Regions from separate parts of the Homo sapiens genome. Here region 2 is linked to region 1. Evidence: promoter capture Hi-C in human tissues and cell types (Jung and others, 2019). All regions are on one chromosome and are shown on one strand. The core of a region is centred on a gene start or on the middle of the fragment in contact, and the rest is flanking DNA. Distances in the headings are between cores, read along the strand shown. Region 1 holds the start of MYO1B (myosin IB). Region 2 has its middle 120 kb from the start of NABP1.

Region 1 (4,029 bases), core at 477-2,976:
CATGAATGCCTGGAAATGTCAGCCTCCTCCCAAAACAGTTTTGCTTGGAATACCCCATTCAAAAAACACACATCATTCAATCCCCCATAGCTCCCTCCCTAGGTCAGCCAATCCTTTGGCGAGTCTCGATTCCAATCTAGGAAAGGTCACTTAACAAATGTCTGACACATTACATTTAATTCTACCACCTCTAAACGATCCTCACACAGAGAGTGAAAGCACAGAACACTTCAATGCCAGGGCTCCTCAGTTCAAACCCCAAACGCTGGTGTGTGTGGTGTGTTTCCTGGGACAGACTGTAAAAGGGTTTTTCAATTGTGTTACATAGTCTGATTCATTTATTTATAGCAATGTCTAATTTTCTGGTGGTTTCTGCCCTCAAACAGTCCTGGAAAACTGTTGTACTATATTATACTATAAAACAATTTTACGTCAAAATTGATTCTATAAAATTTGTCTCCTACCCATTCCAGCCAATATCCACTAGCTACACACACAGACCCAGAGGCACACACATACACACCAATACCATAGTTCATAGCAAAATTTTTTCAAATCTCAAAAAAAAAGGGGGGGGGGCTTCTTTCACTGTAACTAAGAAGATTTGCTTTGAGCAATCTAACATTGGGAACGCCTAGAAACTCAAGAAGCACACAACTTGTTGCAGCAATAAACGCTGGGCCGAAGCCTGAACAAAGCACTACAAATAAGCTCTAGAAACTCACATGGCCCTTGAACAAAATGTTGTGTGTTTGTAGTTACCTCTCCAGCGCGCTCTCATCACCCTCTCCCAACCCTCTCCCCAACTCTCTTCCCGGCCCCACCACCCTTCGTAGCTCCCGTCTCTAATCTGGTTTCCATTCCAGCCCCGCCCCCTTCCCCTTCCCTCTCTGGGACCGTGAATCAATCCCATCCCGGGCAGGAAACGAGACCCAGGGCAACCCCCTCCGCTGCGGCGGAACAAAGGAGGCGAGCGCAGCTGCACGCGCAGGGAGGCCCACAGCGTCCCGGGCCCCTCCTCCCCCGCCGCCGCCGGGGCACACCGCACCTGAACCCCACTCCCCAGGACGCCCCATTGTTCTCCCTCCGCTTTCCTGCCCGGAGGAAGCCACACCGTGTCTTTCCAGGGGGCCAGGAAACAGCTGTGGGCCAGAGGAATGGAGGGGCTGTGGGTGAACACGAGGACAGCCGAGATTCGACTCTGCCCACAGGTACGAGAGGCATGGGGCAAAGTAAGAGCAACTTAGTTTACAAGCCCTTCTTCCCTCCCGCCACCCCCGAAGCCACTGCGGAGTCACGACCACCCTCCGCAACCTACAGCGTGCGCCGTTCCCGCCGCAGCGCCGCGTCTCCCAAGAGAGCGGCAGAGCCCGCTGACCCCCGCCCGCAGGGTGCGACGGGGCCAGGGACCGCGGGCACAAAGGCGCGGAGCAGGCGCCTCGGGGGCCGACGACGGACGCAGAGGGAAGGGCAGGGGAGAGAGAGAGAAAGCGCTCGCGCTACCTCGCCTGGCGCTACCTCGCCGGGCGCCACTCCGCCTCCACGTCGTCCTCGCTCTCCGGTGGCGCTCCGGGACGCGGGCCCAGCCCGGGGCTGCGGGGCTCCCGCCGCGGCTGTTCTGCCAAGGCTGTCCCGCGGCTGCCGGCCGACTGCGCGCCGCGCGCTCTGGTACTGCCTCCACGCGCCGCGGTTGAGGCTCCCGTGCGCACCCAGCTGCGGAGTGCTCAGCGGCGGCGGGAGGAGCCCGGCCACTCCCCTCTCGCCCGCTGGCGGAGGGGCCGGCCGAGGGGCGGGGGCGGCGACCTCGCTGCCTGGGATTCGCCCCTCGGCGCGCGGGCAGGAACGGGAGCCACCGCCTCCGAGCCGACTCACCTCTGTCCGCCCGGTGCCGGCTTCACAGCGCCCCCCGGTGAGCGTCGCGGCGGCCTCCGCGCCTTGCGGGTTTGCGGCCCGACCCTCCGCACCCGGGGCGAGCCTGGATGGGACGAGGCTTGAGGGAAGGAGGGGCGATCGTCGCGGCCCCCACGGAAGGCAGTCTTTCTACCTTTTTTGCTTCCAGACTCACTGACATAAAATGAGAAATACAACATTTGACAACTCGAAGCCAGCCTGGGGTCACATTCCGGCAAACAGTGGGAGTAAGTCTCAATTTTTCCTCCTCCCCAAGATGAAAATTTTTGGATGCCGAGAATATCAGAAAATATTAGTTTCACAGAAAAAGAAAAAAATTATACTGAGTGGTGTGGTGTGTCTTCATTTACAAGACTTTTAGTATCTTTTAAATTACTTAATCTCACATTGTGGGAAATAGACACTGGCCAATTCTTTGTGTTATAAATACATGAGAGGTAGTTTAAAAGAAATTTCAAATACCCATACGTATTTGAATAGAGTGTATTAACAGGTCCTGAGTAATGATCAGTGATGGGGTATATTATACAGGCATGTAGGGGCCAGAGAATCAGGACACCCCCCCTACACACACACACACACCTTCTCACTCAAGCCCTATTGCCTCATTGGAGAATTTAGAACAATCCTCTTGACCCAGGTCCTGGTTTCTTCATCCTCGCACAGGGAAGGGTGCGCATTCAAACTTACTCACTGGGTGAGATGAGGATTACTTGGCTGAGGTGTTAAAAGCACTGTAGACACAGTAATTATTACTCATGGTTCTAACTACTTTATCCTATAATGAAATAAATTGCCATAAATGGGCCAGGTTTAAATGGACTGACCTGTATCTGGAAACTGTCACTAAAGTGAGGTGAACCAAAGAATTCAGACCATATATAGTAACTGTTCCCACTGGCATAAGAACCACAGGCGCTGGGATTTGTTAAATGCCACTAGTAGAGTTTGGAAAGGTGGGACCTTCACAGACTATATCTGCTGGGAACTGTCTCATCATTGATGTCACCATCAGCATCACTTCAGATGTACAAGTGGTGTGATAATGGGCGAAACTAACACATACTGGGTACCAGGGACTGTTCTTTGTTTAATCCTCACAAAAAGCTCTGAGGTAAGTTTCTCTCATTATCCTTGTTTTACAGACCAGCAAAGCCAAGGACAGAGAGGTCTTCAGGGAATACATGGCTATGGTGGTTTGAAGACTCCCATTAGAGAGTGGATATTAATTGCCCTCCTTTTGAATATGGTCTGGACTTAGTGATTTGATTGTAACAAATAGAATACAGCAGATGTGATGCTATGTGACTTCCAAACCTAGGTCATAAAAGGAGATGAAGTTTTCACCTGGCTCTCCCTTGGGACACTCACCCTTGGAACCCAGCTGCCATATTGTGAGGAAGCTCAAGCCACAGGGAAGGCCATGTGTAGGTGTTTGGGCTGATGGTGCCAGCTGAGGACCTGGTCTACTGCCAGTACAACTTATATCAAGCATGTGAGTTGGCGAGCTTTTGAAAGAACTCCAGCCACAGTCACTGACCACGCTGCCTGAGAGACCTAGAGAGAAAACCTAGCTGAGCCAAATCAGGCCCCGGAAACGTAAGTGATAATAATAAAAGATTGTCATCTGGGTGGTTGTTACATAGCAATAGACACCTAGAACAGTGACAGAGCTGGAATTTGAACCCAGATAGTCTGACTCTATAGTCTTCACTATCAAGCACACTACCTCAGACCTTGATAACCTAGCATAATGAAAACCCTGGAGATCCCAGCCTTCACAATAGGCAACATATGAACCTGCTACCTGGTGACGTGTGTTAGACTCACTTCTCCATTTTGCTTGTCTGAGTTTAGGTTCCCAAGTGACTGCTTATAGCAGTTTGGCAGTTCATGGAACTTCTGACCTCTACTGTCCAGTTCAGCTTTTCAAAAATAGCAGAAATGCAGATGGCAGGTTCATGAATATAAGATGTATACAAATTGAAGAGTGGGGGAATTCTATAAACTTTTGATCTTGGAAGGTGGCCAGATTTTAGAAAAAGTAGGTTTGAGACAACTATGTGCTGAGTAGGTCTATCAAAATAGCTAGCTACTAGAAGTAAAGTTTTGAAACTC
Region 2 (4,029 bases), core at 936-3,435, 310 kb before region 1:
CTTACAAAGATATAACAAAGAGGGAAGCCAGCCAAGCAGTGCAATGCAAACAAAGCCCACCGTGACAGATGGAGAGCAAAGCCATAAGGAGTCCACACTGCACCATTCAATAAATAGTATGGTCAAGAGGGCATATCCTAGTGATATGACAAATGAGCCTATTTTCCTCTAACAATTGAAATAAGGTAAGGCCAATACAACCTTTAAAGAAACAAAAATGTTTGCAAGAAAGCCATGTACACACACAAATAAACCAAACATTGCCTAATTTTGAGCATGTTAGAGAACAGGATGCATTTGACCTTGATGATTGTCCTTATAAGGACATGAAGTTAGTCACAGAGGATGACATGTCTTTCCTGCTGACCAACCACACCGCTCAGTTCTTCACCAAATACTTTGTTTAATTATACCACCAAAGCTCTTATTTACAGTTATAGGACTGAACGTAAATTACTAACCTTGACAACATAAAAATAGAGTTTACCCAGCCCAAATTGGGAAATTATGGAGAAAAGAGGTGCAGGAAAGTGTGAGAAGATAATTTCTTCATCTCGTCTAATGAGAAGGAAGAGATACTATTAAAAAGTAGAGACTTCAGTGTATTATTTAATTATGAAGGCAACAAGTATAGAGCAACGTCCCACTAATAAATATTTCCCCTGACACTTTACATGACTTAAAATTTGTCATTTACTTCAGGTTCATATTATCTTAGAAAAATAAGTGTTCTGGCTTGGCACAGTGGCTCACGCCTGTAATCCCACTGCTTGAGGGGCTGAGGCAGGAGGATCGCTTGAGCCTAAGAGTTCAAGACCAGCCAGGACAACACAGAGAAACCCTGACTCTACAAGGAATACAAAAATAAGTTGGGCGTGATGGTGCATGCCTGTTGTCCCAGCTACTTGGGAGGCTGAAGTAGGAAGATCACTTGAACCCAGAAGCTCAAAGCTGCAGTGAGCCACGATCACGCCACTGCACTCTGGCCTGGACCACAGAGTGAGACCCTGTCTCAAAAGAAAAAAGAGAAATAAGCATTCTGTCCCCTCTTCAGAGCATGATTCTCTCTCTGATTAAGACTCCTCTAATTTCAAGAAGCTCCTCCTGATTATTCAAGATGGTTCAAATTTAGAAGGCACCCTTGATCCTCTTACTTTTTTGTGACTAGCACAAGTACTGGGCCATAAAACAGAGGGTCCTCAAAGAATAACCATATTCCCTCACCATCAAAATCCTGCCATTTGGCTGATCAATCCCACCCCACACACACCAAAGCATGCTGTGGTTCAACTCCAAGACTTTTGACTAGTGTCTGATACTTTTAAATGCCTCTGTTACCTACTTCTCTGAGACATCAGACAAGTCTGAACCTATCCCAACTTGAGTTTCCCCCACGGTAAATTAGAGGCATTGGTATCCATCCCACAAGGTTGTACTGATAATCAAATGAGATAACATACAAAGTGCCCAGCACATTGTAGATGTTACAACTTCCTTTCTTCCCTTCAATAGATGAAATTTATTGTGTGAACAACGAAGTGTTCTTAATATGTTTGTTATTTTTTCTCCGTTTAAACATCTGTAGTTGTCAGAACTTTTGAGAAAGGTTCTTTCATGTCTAAACGTCCACGATTCTATGGCCAGTACGCTAATTAAAGGAGAACCATCCTAGTTCAGCCTCTCCCAGGTTAGACCAAAAAGTGGATTGCTGCTGCCACCTGGTGGCTACAAGATAATTTGAGGCAGCATTTCGCGGAAGCTTGTGAGTGCTAAACACCCAACCCCCACACACAATTAGAGGGAGCCTGGGAAAGTGAGGACGCCCCCACTTGTTTTCTTTTCTTTTCTTTTTTTTTTTTTTTTTTGAGACAGGGTCTCGCTTTGTCACCCAGGCTGGAGTACAGGGGCACAATCTCAGCTCACGGCAACCTCTGCCTCCCAGATTCAAGCGATTCTCGTGCCTCAGCCACCCCAGTAGTTGGGATTACAGGCACGCGCCACCACGCCTGGCTAATTTTTGTATTTTTAGTAGAGACAGGGATCTCAGTATGTTGTCCAGGCTGGTCTCGAACTCCCAGGCTCAAGCGATCCTCTTGCCTCAGCCTCTCAAAGTGCTGGGATTACAGGCACGAGCCACTGCGCCGGGACGACCCCAATTATTTTCTAAACGAGTGTCGGTGACAGGTGAAGAACACACACTGGTTTGTTTCCATCTTTGGGAATGTAAATCAAGGTCAAGACTGACCTTGAACAAAAATGTAAAGTTGGCAAATGCCGACTTCAAGGCTCTGAGATTCTTTCCTGTGCCTCTCCTCCACACGTTCTTTGGCTTCCCTAGTCCTCAGGACATTTATTCTACTTGTTCTTCCTCAAATCAAAAGCTGTTCAGAAAATTTTTTTTGATAAAATGATTCACTCTAGGTATAAGTAACTAAGATAATTAATGGAGAGGCCATTAGGCTGAGCCAGCTCCAGGGCCCTGGATTCCTACAGAAGCAAACCGAAACCCAAGTATCAATGGTCATATTCTAGGAAAATGCAACTTCAGCTTTAAAACTCAGGAGCCACCAATTAACCCTTTTAAAGCCTTCTCTTGCCCTCTTGGTGGAGCCTCGAGCCACCTGAAGTCTGATGCTACCTGATTTATGAATCGTTTGCTCAAATAAACTCCTTAATATTCTAATGTGCCTCAGTTTATCTTTTAACATTAATGAGGCTTAATATGACTTCTCTCTGTAATGTTTGCATTTTTAATTACTCTATTTTTGAATAGAAGAATTATGTGTGTATGACACATATTATAAAAGGTCTTCCTAGCAGCTACCCAGAATATTCATACAACTATTCCTTTTTATGGTTTAAAAAAGGCACATGCTATACCAGCTGTTCTGCACCTTGTTCTTTTTACCCAATGTCTTGTTTTTGTTTGTTTTGGTTGGTTTTGTTTGGTTGATTCCTTTTTCTTCTTGATCAGGTTCATCATATTCAAACCTAATGTATTTTGCATGTTATGCCATTGTATTTGCACTTTCACAGAAATATAAACTCCGTCTTCCTCAGGTAAAAAGAATAAATCTTTCTTTGTGGAAGTTGAGGAATCTTCAAGCAGAGATAGAGGAAGTTTCAGGTGGTGGATTTCAAGCTTTAAAGAGGATGTGGATCACCTGCAGAGCTCGCAAAACGAAGTGAAGTCCTATTTCTGATTCAATAGGTCTGGGGTGGAGCTGGAAACCAAATATTTAATAAGGAAAGTGAGTACCCCTAATGCAAGCTCTGTGATCATACTTTGAGAATCACTATATAAAGGCAGAAACTATCAGCCCCGGTTGCATATGAGAGTCACCTGGGGGACTAAAAAAATTCTGATTCTGACTAGCTTGGTCTGGGTCCCCAAGTGAATCTAATATGTCACCAAGATTGAGAATGCAGCAATTCTTAAACTTGGCTGCTTACTGGAATCATTTAGGCATCATTAAAAAATACTGATACCTGGGTCACACCTGCCCCCAACAAAGATAATGCTGTAACTGGTGTGGAGTATGGCTGGAGTACAAGGAGCTTCCAGAGCTCCCCGTGATTCAAACAAGCAACTGAGGCTGAGAGACTGTGGTTTAAGCAGATAGGCTTACTGAGAATTCCAGAGTCAAGTCAGGTGAAGCTGACAGATCCAGGAATGTGTTTGTCTTCGCGCCACTCTATTACAGACACAGGAAAGCAGGAGAAAGACAACGTGTGGTCCTCTGTTCTTTGTTAATAAACAGTTTGTGCTGATCAAATAATTTGTCGAATCAGGACTTATTTTTTGTCATTAGTATGGAAGGAAGAGAATGACAGCTAACTGTCCATTCTTGATCAATAAGATTGATCAAATGAGTTAAATCTGAAGAGAGGACCAAGCCACATTTCCACATTAAAAAAAAAAAAAAGATTCTGGCCAGTTGCTCACATGAAGGATAGTTCCTGTGTTCTGGCTCAGTGCATTCTCTATCTTTTTTGTTTTTTGTTTTGTTTTAGACAAGAGTCTCACTC

The links. Contacts are between HindIII fragments. The study calls those that stand out against the background at their distance.
Region 2: a fragment that was not itself captured here is called in contact with the fragment with the promoter of MYO1B in region 1 in 1 of the 25 tissues and cell types used here (spleen).

Annotation. Positions count from the first base shown.
Region 1 is chr2:191,243,101-191,247,129 of GRCh38, reverse strand. MYO1B (myosin IB) reads right to left here and starts at 1,726. Exons shown (of 31, transcript NM_001130158.3): 1 at 1,504-1,726. MYO1B-AS1 (MYO1B antisense RNA 1) reads left to right here and starts at 955. Exons shown (of 4, transcript NR_186085.1): 1 at 955-1,211; 2 at 3,057-3,510. RefSeq lists a silencer at 1,416-1,805 and an enhancer at 1,218-1,840. The HindIII fragment of the contact is 14,933 bases long and covers 1-4,029 here.
Region 2 is chr2:191,552,961-191,556,989 of GRCh38, reverse strand. No RefSeq gene overlaps it. Among named protein-coding and RNA genes, the nearest start is that of NABP1, 120 kb to the left of the region's middle. The HindIII fragment of the contact is 3,966 bases long and covers 203-4,029 here.